Linked DNA regions of Homo sapiens: region 2 is linked to region 1. The links are contacts of gene promoters, found by promoter capture Hi-C in blood cells and fetal thymus (Javierre and others, 2016). All regions are on one chromosome and are shown on one strand. The core of a region is centred on a gene start or on the middle of the fragment in contact, and the rest is flanking DNA. Distances in the headings are between cores, read along the strand shown. Region 1 holds the start of ABRAXAS2 (abraxas 2, BRISC complex subunit). Region 2 holds the start of PSTK (phosphoseryl-tRNA kinase).

Region 1 (7,612 bases), core at 1,471-3,970:
TCATAGGTTTGGTTCCCAGGGAGCAAAGTGTGACACTGAGATGAACAGGGAGGAAGTTGATTAGGGAGTACTCTGAGAATCATCATCTGTTGGAGAAGAAAAAGAAGCAGGATTGGCTGAATGAAGTAGTTGGACTGAGGTACCACTACAACAGAATTTCAGCAAATCCCTCCTGGCCCTCCCTTTTTTCATCTACCCCGACCAGGCATTGAATGCTGGATGCCCACAAAGGGAGGACTGGCCTTAGGCAATGAAGCTCTCTTCAACTAGGTATACTTATAGGAGAGAGCTGACCTGCAGCAATCAATCAATCCTGCAAGGCAGACAGGAGGTCTCGGTGGCACATCAAATCATCTAGGGCAGAAACAGTAAACCATGCAGCTGCCTGGGAGAAGAGCATCCCAAGCAAAGAAAACAGCAAGCACAAAGGCCCTAAAGTGGAATGAGCTAGGGACGTCCAGGAAGCAGAAAGAAGACTAATGTAGCTGAAGCTCGGTAAATAAAGGGGGCAGTAGCAGGTAATAAAGTCAGACAAGTAATAGGGGCCAGGTCTTGGCAAGATTTGGTGTTTGGCCAAGAAGCAACATGGTTTAGTTCTTACATTTAAATGTTGACCATCTTGCTATGTTGAGCATAGATTTGGCAAGGAGGGGATTAAAAGCTGAAGCAGGAACACTGGGTTTCTCAGCCTTGTCACCACTGATGATAATTCTTCATTGTGGGCCTGTTGTTGTGCACTGTAAGACGTTTAGCCACTTCTCTGGCCTCTACCCACCCACCAGATGCCAGTGGCACCTGACACCGAATTATGATATCTGATAATGTTTCCAAACATTGCCACATGCCATTTTGGGAGGCAAAACTGCCACCAGTTCGGACTCCCTGAGTAAGAGGATACAAAATTCTGAGAGAGAGAGATGATGGTGACTTGAACCACCGTTTCACTTCCCTCCCACCCCAAGACGCTACAGTCTCAACTCTGCAGCCAAAGTGATTGTGTTATCTGTTATCAAATTATGTCACTACTATACCAAACTGTTTATTTGCCTGAATTTCCTCCATCCTTTCATCCTTGAGCTTGTAAATGTTGCCTTTTTTCTTTTCCTTTTTTTTTTCTTTGAGACAGAGCCAGAGCGCAGTGGCACAATCTCGGCTCACTGCAATCTCTGTCTCCCGGGTTCAAGCGATTCTCATGCCTCAGCCTCCTGAGTAGCTGAGATTACAGGCATGCACCAGAATGCCCGGCTAGTTTTTGTATTTTCAATAGAGATGGGCAGAGGGGAGTGGGCAGGGTCTCACCATGTTGGCCAGGCTGGTCTTGAACTCCTTGTCAGGCCTCTGAGCCCAAGCTAAGCCATCATATCCCCTGTGGCCTGCACGTATACATCCAGATGGCCTGAAGTAACTGAAGAATCACAAAAGAAGTGAAAATGACCGGTTCCTGCCTTAACTGATGACATTACCTTGTGAAATTCCTTCTCCTGGCTTAGAAGCTCCCCGACTGAGCACCTTGTAACCCCCGCCCCTTCCCACCAGAGAACAACCCCCTTTGACTGTAATTTTCCACTACCTACCCAAATCCTATAAATCGGCCCCACCCCTATCTCCCTTGCTGACTCTCTTTTCGGACTCAGCCCGCCTGCACCCAGTTGAAATAAACAGCCTTGTTGCTCACACAAAGCCTGTTTGGTGGTCTCTTCACACAAACGCGCATAACACTCCTGACCTCAGGTTAACACTCCCCACACACGCCCCCCCCTCCCAAAGTGCTGGGATTACAGGCATGAGCCACCGCGCCCGGCCTCAAATGTTGGCTTTTTGTTTTGTTTTGTTTTTGAGACGGAGTCTTGGTCTGTCACCCAGGCTGGAGTGCAGTGGCGCGATCTCGGCTCACTGCAAGCTCCGCCTTCCAGGTTCACGCCATTCTCCTGCCTCAGCCTCCTGAGTAGCTGGGACTACAGGAGCCCGCCACCACGTCCGGCTAATTTTTTGTATTTTTAGTAGAGACGGGGTTTCACCGTGTAAGCCAGGATGGTCTCAAACTCCTGACCTCGTGATCCGCCCACCTCGGCCTCCCAAAGTGCTGGGATTACAGGCGCGAGCCACCACGCTCAGCCTAAATGTTGGCCTTTTTTTTTTTTTTTTTTTTTTTTTTTTGAGACGAAGCTTCGCTCTTGCTGCCCAGGCTGGAGTGCAATGGCACGATCTCGACTCACCGCAACCTCCGCCTCCCGGGTTCAAGCCATTCCCCTCCCTCAGCCTCCCGAGTAGCTGAGATTACAGGCATGTGCCACCACGCCCGGCTAGTTTTTGTATTTTCAATATAGACAGGGTTTCTCCATGTTGGTCAGGCTGGTCTCGAACTCCTGACCTCAGGTGATCCGCCCGCCTCGGCCTCCCAAAGTGCTGGGATTACAGGCGTGAGCCACTGCGCCCGGCTAGAATGTTGTCTTTTAATACTAAGGTTTCACTTGCAAAGGGAAAGAACTGTTTGCGGAACTATCAACCGCTGTCTGAGGCGTGTCGGGAGCGACACCCCTGCGGAGGATACGGTGCCGGGGTCCTTCCGATCGCAAAAACCGGCGTTCCTCAGCCTTCAAGACTGTGAGCGCTCAGGGCCCTCGGCCGCTGCCCGCCGCAGACTCCACTTCCCATGATGCCAAGGGGTCGGGCCGTCCGGAAGGCCGTGTGCCCTCCGCGGGGCATGATGGGGTAGCTGGAGATTTCCATCATGGCGGCGTCCATTTCGGGCTACACCTTCAGTGCTGTGTGTTTCCACAGCGCCAACAGCAACGCGGACCACGTAGGTGCCGGGCCCCCTGCCGCGCCCGCTGGGGGCTTTCAGCCTCTGTCTCAGGCCGGCGCTCGCGGCCAAGCCGGGACCTCATGCGGCTCGCCCCCTGGGCACCAGGGCCGGCCGGAGGAGCTGGTGACCCGGGCGGCTCCCGCCCCCGGTGAGCTCTTGCCTCTGGGGGCTCCTTCGCCCCTGGGACAGGCCCCCTGGCTTCGCGCTCTCAGCCGCTCGGCCGTCCCGGCACAGCCGTCTCCCGTGCAGCAAAACTGTCCCACCTGGCCTCCTGCAGTGTCAGGAGTCGCTCGGTGGAAACCGAGCGCCTGCCCCTCCCTGAAAGTCAGGCTTCTAGACTTAAGAGGGGCGCACGGGGTCGGGAAGGAATCTAAAGGCCGGGCGTTTAGTCCAGTAGGCGAGGTACTCAGCCCCGCCCGCCGGTCTCGCAGGTTGTCGTGGGGGTGCTGCGAGTGAAACCGTGGCTGTCACTACTGATACTTGTTAGACACGGTTGTGTGTTTTCTTCGCCCTGATGCAAAATGGAGAATGTATACAGGAGCGTTCGGTGCAGGGTCTATTTTGTATTTCCTTGAAGTTGCGTGTTTAGTTCTTTGTGACTAGTTCTTTCACTAGTCACAGTGAAATAGGGAAGTGACAGGCCCACTACTGAGTGATGGGAAATGCATAGGCTGTGAGCCCACAGGAGGAGCAGATCCTGTCTGTTTCAGTGTCTTTATTTTACAAATTGTCTTTTAACGTCATTGGCCTCTGATTGGAAATGCTTTGTGAAACTAGATCACTTCTCTCTTAAAGGAGGTATATAATTTGGCCACCAAATTGGGGGATTATTTTAAGTGATGTTAATAGTGAATGATTCAAACTCATTAAACCTATGTGTGGGGTTTTTGGTTGTCATTACAAAGCAAAATGGTACACTGCAGAAGGAGGAACTGCATTTGGTTTGATGTCAGCAATCTTAGCTTCCATTAATAAAAACTGATTTCACAGGGAGGTGATTCCATTAGTAAATTGAATGCAATTAAATTATTGTACCTTTCATCTCTTCAGTGTTGATGGTAGAACTTAATGATAGGAATAGGAATATATACATCATGGGTTTTTCCAGAAGCAGCTTTGAAGACTATGGCCTAGGGTACTACAACCAGCTATTTAATAATGTAATATAGTTCCATATGTAAGGGTTTGTGATACCCCTAGTGTCCATGGACTATTAAAAATGGGTCCTTTATTTCTTGAATGCCTACTAATATCACAGTTTATGTATATGGCAAGATTACTGTAAGAACAAGCAGCTACCTGTTGAAAAAAATTAATTCAAGAGATATCCCTTAATATCTACTCTGCAAGGCGTGGTGCTTGACTTCATAGAAATTTTCACCAATGCCAATAGTTTGCAACTGTGTTTTATATGACCATGCCTGTTTATATTAACTTTGCCACAATTATAGATGTGGAATCCTTGAAAATAATTTCAATTTTAAGGTTGAAGAACCAACAATTTACTTTTGTAGTACATACTTATTTTGTCCAGTCAAGAAATTAATTTAAAACCACTCATTTGTAGACCTGGGGCTACCATACTTTTCTGTACAGGGCCAGATAGTAAACTTTGTAGGCTTTGTAAGCCATATGGTCTCTATAGCAACTATTCAACTCTGCTATTATTGGGAGAAAGCATCTATAGACAATAAAAGATTCAAGTGACTCTTATTAGCTGGACACGGTAGCTCATGCCTGTAATCCCAGCACTTTGGGAGGCTGAGGCGGGCAGATCACCTGAGGTCAGGAGTTCAAGACCAGCCTGACCAACAAGGAGAAACCCCGTCTCTACTGAAAATATAAAATTAGCCAGGCGTGGTGGCACATGCCTGTAATCCCAGCTACTAGGGAGGCTGAGGCAGGAAAATCGCTTGAACCCGGGAGGCAAAGGTTGTGGTGAGTCGAGATCGCGCCATTGCACTCCAGCCTGGGCTACAAAAATAATAATAATAAAATAACATAGAAACCATTTTTAGCTTACAGGCCGTACATTAATAAGCATTAGGCTGGAATTAGTCCCCATGCCATAGTTTGCCAACTCCTACTATAAAGGAACATTGGCTCAGATAATCCAGACCAGTAGATGTATAAACATTCCACTTGTACTTGGCTTTAGAATGTCCTTTTAAAAAAAAAATTACAGACAAGGTCTTGCTATGTGGCCCAGGCTGATCTCAAACTCCTGGCCTTAAGCGATCTTCCGTTTTTGGCCTCTTAAAGTGTTGAGATTACAGGCGTGACCCACCGCATCTGACCTAGAATTTCTTGATGTCACTGTTGAGTTATATCATTATTCCACAAATGGAAGACTGTTGTAGGGTTACCAGATGAAATACAGCACACTCAGTTAATTTGAATTTTAGATAAATAGCAATTTATTTATAGTATAAGTATATCCCAAAACTTACAAAATAATTATTTGTTATCTGAAATTAAAATTTTATTGTGTGTCTTGTATCTTTTGCTAAATCCAGCAACCCAGTGCTGTAGAATACTAGGAATCTAGCTATGTTCTTAAGTCTAAAGTTCTGTGTGAATATGAAATTATTTTTTCACTTTGATTTTTTGAAAGTGGGTATTTGTTTTGTTTGTCTTTTGCTTGTGACAAGACAAAACTGCTTTTATGGTGAGAATTCATAACTGAAAGATTTTCTTAGGGTAAAACAAGCTGATTTAGGCAGTGTTTCTCAAATTAGTAGTCATGGACACTCCTTTGGATCTCAGAGAGTTTTTTTTTTTTAAGGGAATATATATATTTCTTTTTTTCTTTCTTTTTTTTTTTTTTGAGACAGAGTCTTGCTCTGTCACCCAGGCTTGAGTGCCGTGGCACAATCTTGGCTCACTGCAACCTCTGTCTCCTGGGTTCAAGCGATTCTTCTGCCTCAGCCACTCTAGTAGCTGGGATTACAGGTGCGCACCACCACACCCATCTAGTTTTTATATTTTTAGTAGAGACGGGGTTTCTCCATGTTGGCCAGGCTGGTCTCAAACTCCTGACCTCAGGCAGTCCACCCACCTTGGCCTCCCAAAGTGCTGGGATTACAAGCAAGAGCCACCGTGCCCGGCCTATGTATTTCCTAAGTTTAAGAAATGCTTTGTGATTATTTGGTATTTTAGGACACTCCCCCTCCTCAAATCAAATACAAAAACTAGGCTGTAAAGTGTCTGTCTTGTCAGGAGATCGAGACCATCCTGGCTAACAAGGTGAAACCCCGTCTCTACTAAAAATACAAAAAATTAGCCGGGCGCGGTGGCGGGCGCCTGTAGTCCCAGCTACTCGGGAGGCTGAGGCAGGAGAATGGCGTGAACCCCGGGAGGCGGAGCTTGCAGTGAGCCGAGATTGCGCCACTGCAGTCCGCAGTCCGGCCTGGGCGACAGAGCGAGACTCCGTCTCAAAAAAAAAAAAAAAAAGTGTCTGTCTTTCCCCACTCCCATAGATTCTCACTTTAAACTGGAAATGTTTTTAAACAGGAAACTTCATTAATTGATTTGAAGGATCAACTTAGAATAGAAGGATATATCGTACAAGGGCATTGTTTCAACAAATTTATTCAACCACTGTTAGTGAGGCACCTACTAAGTGTTAGGCATTGTGCTGGGTGCTGAGATAGAGCAGTGAATAAGCACACAGTCCCTGCTCTCGTGGAGTTTACATTCTGGCAAGGGATAATAAATGTATTTATTTATAAATATGTAATATGATGGATAGTGAGAAGACCAAGAAGAAAAAGAATGTAAGGTAAAGGGGGCAGAGTGCCTGGCAGATGCTATTTCCATTAAGTTGGTCAGGCAAGGCCTCTCCGCTAAGGTGCCATTTGAGTAAAGACCTGAATGAAGGAAAGGAGTAAGCCGTGTGATATCTGGGGAGAGAGATTCCAGGACAGCTTCTCAGTTCAACCCTCTGTATAGGAAAGTTACTTTAGGATTTAGAGTATGTCTTCTCCCAGCTGTGCTTGTGCAGAACATGGCGCAAGTACACAAAGAGTAGGTAATGAGCCAATCAACTGTGGTGGTAAATGCCCTCCAAAAGTGTAAATAAGTTAACCCCTGCATTTATTAAAGAAAAAGGTTCGGCTGGGCACGATGGCTCACGCCTGTAATCCCAGCACTTTGGGAGGCCCAGGTGGGCGGATCACGAGGTCAGGAGATCGAGACCATCCTGGCTAACACGGTGAAACCCCGTCTCTACTAAAATACAAAAAAAAAAAAATTAGCCAGGCATGGTGGCGGGTGCCTGTAGTCCCAGCTACTCAGGAGGCTGAGACAGGAGAATGGCATGAACCCGGAAGGTGGAGCTTGCAGTTAGCAGAGATCGCGCCACTGCACTCCAGCCTGGGTGACAGAGCAAGATTCCGTCTCAAAAAAAAAAGAAAAAAAAAAAGACAAGAAAAAGGTTCATGTGGATGATAGGGAATTTAATTGTTTTGCTAAAATCCTAATTTTCTATGCCAGCCTGTATAAAAGCATTTAGTTGTCATTGTGTTACCTTTATCTTTTCATCATCAGCGATGTTTTTACAACAACAAAATAAATTGTATGTGATTTCAAGAAAGCAACTTTGAAATATTTCTACTTCTTGAGTTTTTTGACATTGGTTATGATACTTAAGATTTAGGTGATGAAATTCACTCTTCCAAAAACAGGGAGGAGTTGAAGGGATTAAAATAATATTTTATCTTGTTATCCTTTTTTGGAACAATCCAATTAATAGATATACCTCAGATTGCTTTAGACTGTTTGTTGGTTTATAGAATAGTGGTTTAC
Region 2 (7,612 bases), core at 2,034-4,533, 1.8 Mb before region 1:
TAAAACTGCTTTAAAAAATAAAGCCTATTTAAAAAAAATACATAACCAAAACAAAAATAACTATGATAAAAAGAAAAAAAAAACCGGTTGCCTGCAGGGGTTAAATGGGTGTGGATGTGGAGGATGGGAGATAAAAGACAGTGGAGCCAGGCTCAATGGCACATGCCTATAGTCCCAGCTACTCAGGAGGCTGAGATAGGAGGATTGCTTGAGCCTAGAAATTCGAGGTTACAATGAGCTATGGTTCCACTCCAGCTTGGGTGACAAAGCAAAACCCTGTCTCTTAAAAAAGTGGGGGAGGGGCAAATTAAGGAGAGGGACCTTATACTGGACCAATAATGATAAAATGTCATGAAATAAAGAGTTTAACTCATTGCTCTTCACTTTCAGTCCAAAGGAAAATGAGATTATTTGTAAGTGCTTCATACAAATTATATCAGCTTTAGCAGGTTACTCGTCATATTTTGACACAGTATACACTGATTTTGTCCTTACGTCTTCACATTTTGAACATACCCTTTACAGGTAAGAAGGAATTATCCCCTAAAATATAAGGATAAAAGAATCTGGAATCTAGGCCCGACGCGGTGGCTCACGCCTGTAATACCAGCACTTTGGGAAGCCGAGGCGGGTGGATCATTTGCGGTCAGTTCAAGACCAGCCTGTCCAACATGAGGAAACCCCGTTCTTACTGAAAATACAAAAATTAATTGGGCAGTAGTGGTGTTCGCCTGTAATCCCAGCTACTCGGGAGGCTGAGGCAGGAGAATCCCTCGAGCCTGAGAGGCGGAGGTTGCGGTGAGCCGAGATCGGACCACTGCACTCCAGTCCGGGCGAGAGAGTGAGACGCTGTCTCAAAAAACAAAAAACTGTAATCTGAATTCAATTTTTCTACAACACACCCCCAGACAAAAAAAACTTGGCCAGCCGCGGTGGCTTGCGCCTGTAATCTTTGGGAGGCCGAGGCGGGCGGATCACAAGGTCAGGAAATCGAGACCATCCTGGCTAACATGGTGAAACCCCGTCTCCACTAAAAATACAAAAAGTTAGCTGGGCCTGGTGGCAAGCGCCTGTATTCCCAGCTACTCGGAGGCTGAGGCAGGAGAATGGCGTGAACCCAGGAGGCGGAGGTTGCAGAGGTTGCAGTGAGCCGAGATTGCGCCACTGCACTCCAGCCTGGGCGACAGAGCGAGACTCCGTCTTAAAAACAAACAAAAAACAAAAACTTGTTTTGTACCTCTCCATAGCTTAGTATTACTTTTTAACACAAACACCTATTGTTCTCTGTCTGCATGCACTGGAATTGAGGTCTGTGGATGTGCCTTTCCTGACAATATTTCTTCACGCTTGCTGCCCACTGGTGCTGTGAGGGCACAATAACGAATGTTTACTTTGCCCTTGCACTCTTCACATCTGGGAACCGCAAAGGAGCGCGGTGGTCGGACTGTCAGCCTCGCCTTCTATTCTTTGATTTCCAGTAACTTATTTTCGAAAGATTGCTGGAGGGAAAGGCTCAACGTCTCTTTTGGGATTTTCCTAAGCAGAAAGACCTCATCCTAACAAAACTGAGGCGCCAATCCTACTGGCTGGCAACTTTCGGCAGGGAGGGTGATTCTATTTGAAGATCAATCCTAACTCTGGGACCCCTTGGGAATGTCCAGGAGCTAGGAACGCAGCGCCGCGGTCTCTCCAGCCTCTGGTCCCTGGGAGCAAGCAGGGCACCGGTGGAGCAGGTGCCTCTGGGGCCGCACGGAAACCCAGCTAGGCCAGTTCCTCCACTGCGCCGGTAGGCGGCGGAGACGCTGCGCGTGCGCGCAGGGCAGACGGTAGAGCGGAGACGACGCTCCCAGACTCCTCCGGTCTCCCCGGGCAGCATGAAGACCGCCGAGAACATCAGAGGAACCGGCAGCGACGGGCCGCGGAAACGAGGCCTCTGCGTCCTCTGTGGCCTCCCCGCGGCAGGAAAATCGACTTTCGCGCGCGCCCTCGCCCACCGGCTGCAGCAGGAGCAGGGTTGGGCCATCGGTGTTGTCGCGTATGATGACGTCATGCCCGACGCGTTTCTCGCCGGGGCAAGAGCGCGACCGGCGGTCAGCACGGAGGGGCGGGGCCTGGGCCGCGGGGCGGGGCGGGGCGGGGCGGGGCGGGGCGGGGACACTCGCGTCCACGCGGTCCTGGGTGATTTGCCATGAGCGCCCATTGCTTGGTGTGGGAGGTGAAGTTCGAGAAAAGTGGAGCTGGGTTAACATAGTTACTGCAGAGGGTGAATGCGTTGGCTGTAGAAAGTGGTTACAAAGCCAACTGTTAGAACGATGCATTTTAGATGCTTATCTGTATATTTGATGCATGTATATGTTGTATATTCTATACAGTTGAGTCTTCAGACAGGGTCAGGTTCTCAAGTCAGCGTGCAAGGTGGAAAGCCCCTATAGTCAAATGCACTGTCGAAAATCCCTTAGGAAGTTTCTCCTTAGGAGAGGGAAAGAAGTTCTAAAACTTGAACGTCTAGCTACGGGTGGATTCAGGTTTTGTAATTTGAGGAATCCTCTTTAAGAAAAGGAATAAAAACTATAAGTAACAAAATTTCTGGGGTCCCTCAGAACGATAGAAAGAGGCTGTACAAATGCATTATCAGACCTATGAAGCTTAATCTTTGTTCATCTCAAAGTAAATCTGCCTCTGCCAGCTTTGGGAAGGATGGCTGTTTCTTAGTTGACCACCAGAGGAAGTAATGGGTTTGTATTTACGGAAAAACTTGTATGTTCCAAATACATCTCTTTAAGCCCTCCTCATCTCACACTCAGCACAGTGAGATACATCCTCTTGGAGAAGCATGTGGAAACTGAGACCACTGGGGGAAGAGTAGATTACATTCGTGTTTCTCATGCTCACTCTTGAGTAAATACTCTTTGAAATATTCTGAAATGTTAACATTATTATTTTTGTTGTTTAATGCCTAATGTAGATGAATTTACAGAAATCAAATGCAAATGTTATGTGACTCTACTTTCTAAGTATATATACAAAAATACAGTACATTTGGTGCATGGGCTCTCCAGCAAGGTGTATCTACTTTCTCATTCTTGGTTAATTGTGAAGTAAGTGCAGTGTCAGGATAGCGCAGGATTGACCTGGATGATAGTATTTTCAACACTTCGGAGAAAGCTGAAAGTTGTCGATAGGGATTGTTGTATTTGCTGGCTTTCCCTTCACTTGTATTATGTTGTTTTTTCCACGCTTTTCCTATGGACAAAGACTGTGGGACTCATCTGCTCACTTAGGAAGTGATATGTGTTTCCAATTTAGTGGGTTTAGCTGATGTGTTTGTTGTATGTAGTGTAATCTCAGTGGTGGTAAGGCATGGGCAGGCAAGTGAGAGTTCTCACTCCCCTGTCCTCGTGTTTTCCCTCCAGCTTAGATTTCTTAACTATGTCAGGATTCTCCACAGCCCTTGACCAGCACAAGATTACTTGTATTCTCAAGCTGTTTATTCCCCTCAGTTTGTTTCCTCCATCTTTCCCCATCCCATATCAACTCATTTGTTAGCCTGAGGTCTTTTCTTCTTGACCCAGAGACTTTTCACCTGATCTTTTTGCTGTCTACTACCTTTCCCATTTCAGGGGAAAACCTGCATTATTATATCTTAGCCAGACTATTTTGACTCCACCTTTCTCTTGGATGATAAATAAGTTCTTTCATTTATTCACTTATTCAGTCAGTCATCCATTTAATATACATTTCTGGAGCACCGACCCTCTGCTGGAGGCTGAGTATGCAATGGACAGTGATCTAGCAGAGAGAGAAGTGTAAACAAATGCTTAAACTGTGTAAGCACTGCTAGAGTGGAGATATATGTATAGAATGGGGTTTCATGATGGGCAAGGGAGAGGCTGAGCTGCCTTCTGCATGGTTGAGTCTGAGAAAGCTTTACACAGCACTAGTAACATTAGTTTTCCAGGCAGAAGGAATGGTATATATGGAGTCATGTGAAACCAGGTGTGTTAGAGAACTACAGATGGTTCCGTATTGTGAGCTGAAATTTTCATATGGGGCAGGGTGGCAGTGAGGCCAGATGACTGACCACCCTAGTGGCCTAATATGAATTGCAATTCTTTGGTCTCTTGTAGCCATCCCAATGGAAATTGCTTCGACAGGAACTGTTGAAGTACCTGGAATACTTCTTGATGGCTGTCATTAATGGGTGTCAGATGTCTGTCCCACCCAACAGGACTGAAGCCATGTGGGAAGATTTTATAACCTGCTTAAAGGATCAAGATCTGATATTTTCTGCAGCATTTGAGGCCCAGTCTTGCTACCTCTTAACAAAAACTGCTGTTTCTAGACCTTTGTTTTTGGTTTTGGATGACAATTTTTATTATCAGAGTATGAGATATGAAGTCTACCAGCTGGCTCGGAAATGTAATTAAAACTTTTTTTTTCTTACACATGGAGATACTTATTCACGTATCAAAAACACTATTGTCTTCAATGAGAATTTAACTTGATTAGGAGGTTATGTAGATTTACTTAATTTTAAAAGCTAGATGTTCAGTATTGCAAACGGAGTTTTTCCTACTATAATTGTCATAATTTGTCTAATATATGTTTATTTCATATTTTGGAAAAAGAGTATACCAGTAATTCTATCATTTTAAACTGTTTTCAGATTCGTTGGGCTTTTGCCAGCTCTTTTTAGATTGTCCTCTTGAGACCTGTTTACAGAGGAATGGCCAGAGGCCACAGGCACTGCCTCCTGAGACCATCCACCTGATGGGAAGAAAGCTAGAAAAGCCCAACCCTGAGAAAAATGCTTGGGAACACAACAGCCTCACAATTCCGAGTCCAGCATGTGCTTCGGAGGCCAGGTATTCCACTCAATCATCCCTCCCTGGATGCTCCCCTGTGCCAGGTATCATGGTCAGTGCTTTGTCTATGTTGGTTTAGTTAGTCCTCACACAGGCATTGGAGAGACATTATTCCCCACTTTGTGTGGAAGCTAAAAGTGAAATGGGAAAATTTAGTTTGTCCAGAAAGATTTGAACCCAAGTTTATTTGCAAATGTCTGCTCATAACTGTTACGATTATACTGTCTTCCAGTAGTTGGAGCAGGGAATTCAGAGAACACATCTTTGATTCTCTTGCTAAAATAGATAGTCTAAATAGGTTGCCTGGTAGTTTTCTTATAGAAAGAGATCTGTGAAAGAGTGCAACAGGTACTGGGTCCTATTTGCCTTAGAGCTCACCATAGTTACACTGCTTTTGCATATGTGAGGCTTGTAGGCTATGCTGTCTAATGCATTTCATTCATTACGTATGTCTTGAGAGTTCTAGAGCAGCATATTTCTAGCAGAAACTTCGCTGGCGATGGAAATGTTCTATATTTGCACTAATATGGTAGCTGCTAGCCACATTTGACTATTGAGCCCTTAAAAGTAGCTAGTGTAACTGATGACCTGAATTTTTTTGTTTAACTTATTGATTTAAACTTAAGTAGCCTCATGTGGCCAGTGGCTATTTATTGGACAGCGCAGTTCCAGAGGTATATTGCCCACACTTCCTTAGTTCCTGCATATTGTCCACGAGGGATCGGTATCAGCTCACTGCAGGCTTGACCTCCTGGGCTCAAGCAGTTCTCCTGTCTCAGTCCCCTAAGTAACTGGAACTACAGGCCCACACTGCCAAGCCCAGCTAATTTTTTAATTTGTTGTAGTGACAGGGTCTCACTATGTTGCCCAGGCTGGTCTGAAACTCGTGGCCTCAAGCAATTCTTCCAACTTGACCTCCCAAATTGCTGGGATTACGAGCATGAGCTATCACCCCCGGCTAATATTTTCTTAAATTTTGGGTTACATTGGGAACAGTGTCTATAATTCCTTTTGAAATTCTTTTTAGGAATCTTATCTTAAGGTTATAGTTCCCTTAAAAAAATATTTGCTATGCTTTACCTCTTTTAAGACTGTAAACAAACTGGGTGCAGTGGCTCACACCTGTGATCCCAGCACTTGGGAGGCCAAGAAGGGAGGATCACTTGAACCCAAGAGTTTGAGGTTGCAGTTGAGCTATGATAATGCCACTGCACTCCAGCCTGGGTGACAGTGAAACCCTGTCTCTAAACAAACAGACTAAATAGAACAAAAGGGCATGGGTATGAAAATTAGCTAGTGATCACTGGCTGAATAGTCACTAAAACTCAAATTCTCTCCCAGTTCTGAACACTTTATATATATGGTCTCATTCAGTCCTCACAACCACCCTTTAAGGGTAGAAACTACTATCCCCATTTTATAGATGGGATAACTGAGGCCCAGATAAGTAAAGTAATATACCCAGGTAGGAAGTGGCAGAGCCAAGATCTGGACCCAGTGAGATCGCACTCACTCCAGAACCTGGGCTCTTTTCAGTGTGAGGAAGATCATCTTGAGGTTGAGCTTTAACTTGATGAGCTCACTCGCTTAAAACTTTTTAGTGCCACTCCCATAATCTGAGTAAAATTCAAACTCCTTACCCTAACTTAGGTGATCTAACCCAGATTAATTCTCCAACTTCATATTCTGCCACTCTCCTCCTGGCTTCTTTTCAGCCTTTCTCTTGCACGAACACAAGGAGCATGTTCTTGCCCTGGGGCCCTTGTACTTGCTGCCCCTCTGCCCTTCCCACATTCTTATACTTGACTGCCTTCACTGACCATCCTAACTAAAGCAAAGAACATTAGTTGGGCTACCCTGTCACTCTTATCATTGTCACTTTATTGTCTTTGCTCACTTATCTACTTACCACCATCTGAAATTATTTTTTGCTTTATTTAACTGTTTATCTGTCTCTATTACATTATCAGCCTTGGCAAACGCAAGGATCTTGCTACACCCCCAGCTCAGCATGTGGTTGTACAGTATTTTTCATATAAGACGTTCAATACATATTTGTTAAATCAATGAATGAATTCTACCTGAAACCTTCATGGACCTTTGCTCAGTGAGAAACTTTGCTCATCCATATCCAGTAAATAAGCGGGAGCCAGAAAGTAAAGACCAGGCATCTTTCCATAGAGAATAAAGTTGAGCTCTTGTGGCCCCCGGTTCAGCCTTAAGAGGGGAAAAGAGAATGACTTTTCAAAGCTTATTGACATGAGTCTTAGGAAATTGGTATTTTTTAATGAGGGGTCCTTAGCTTATCATTTGTTTTGAGCTACTGCATTTGGATTGTCTACATGGAAGCTAGCTTCTAAATCATTTAGTTTTTTTCCTTTTGTTAAGAATCTTGGGTTATAGCAGTTTCATTCCTCTAGAATTCAGTTTAATATTCATAAATACAAGTTCCTTAAAAGTCAGATGTTGGCTGGGCATGGTGGCTCACGCCTGTAATCCCAGCACTTTGGGAGGCTGAGGCAGGTGGATCACGAGGTCAGGAGATCTAGACCATCCTGGCTAACACGGTGAAACCCCATCTCTACTAAAAAATACAAAAAATTAGCTGGGCGTGGTGGTGGGCGCCTGTAGTCCCAGCTACTCGGGAGGCTGAGGCAGGAGAATGGCGCAAATCCGGGAAGCAGAGCTTGCAGTGAGCAGAGATCACGCCGCTGCACTCCAGCCTGGGTGACAGAGCAAGACTCCAG

The links. Contacts are between HindIII fragments. The CHiCAGO score rates a contact against its expected background, and 5 or more counts as called.
Region 2: a contact is called between a fragment that was not itself captured here and the fragment with the promoter of ABRAXAS2 in region 1, in 2 of 17 cell types (total CD4 T cells and naive CD4 T cells). The highest score is 7.0, in total CD4 T cells.

Annotation. Positions count from the first base shown.
Region 1 is chr10:124,799,099-124,806,710 of GRCh38, forward strand. ABRAXAS2 (abraxas 2, BRISC complex subunit) reads left to right here and starts at 2,721. Exons shown (of 9, transcript NM_032182.4): 1 at 2,721-2,803. The coding sequence starts at 2,732. RefSeq lists enhancers at 2,320-2,874, 2,547-2,816, 2,875-3,428 and a silencer at 2,917-2,996. The HindIII fragment of the contact is 5,454 bases long and covers 2,165-7,612 here.
Region 2 is chr10:122,978,606-122,986,217 of GRCh38, forward strand. It overlaps PSTK (phosphoseryl-tRNA kinase), which reads left to right and starts at 1,796. Exons shown (of 6, transcript NM_001363531.2): 1 at 1,796-2,090; 2 at 4,128-4,419; 3 at 4,667-4,865. The coding sequence starts at 1,875. RefSeq lists an enhancer at 1,808-2,127. The HindIII fragment of the contact is 1,280 bases long and covers 2,644-3,923 here.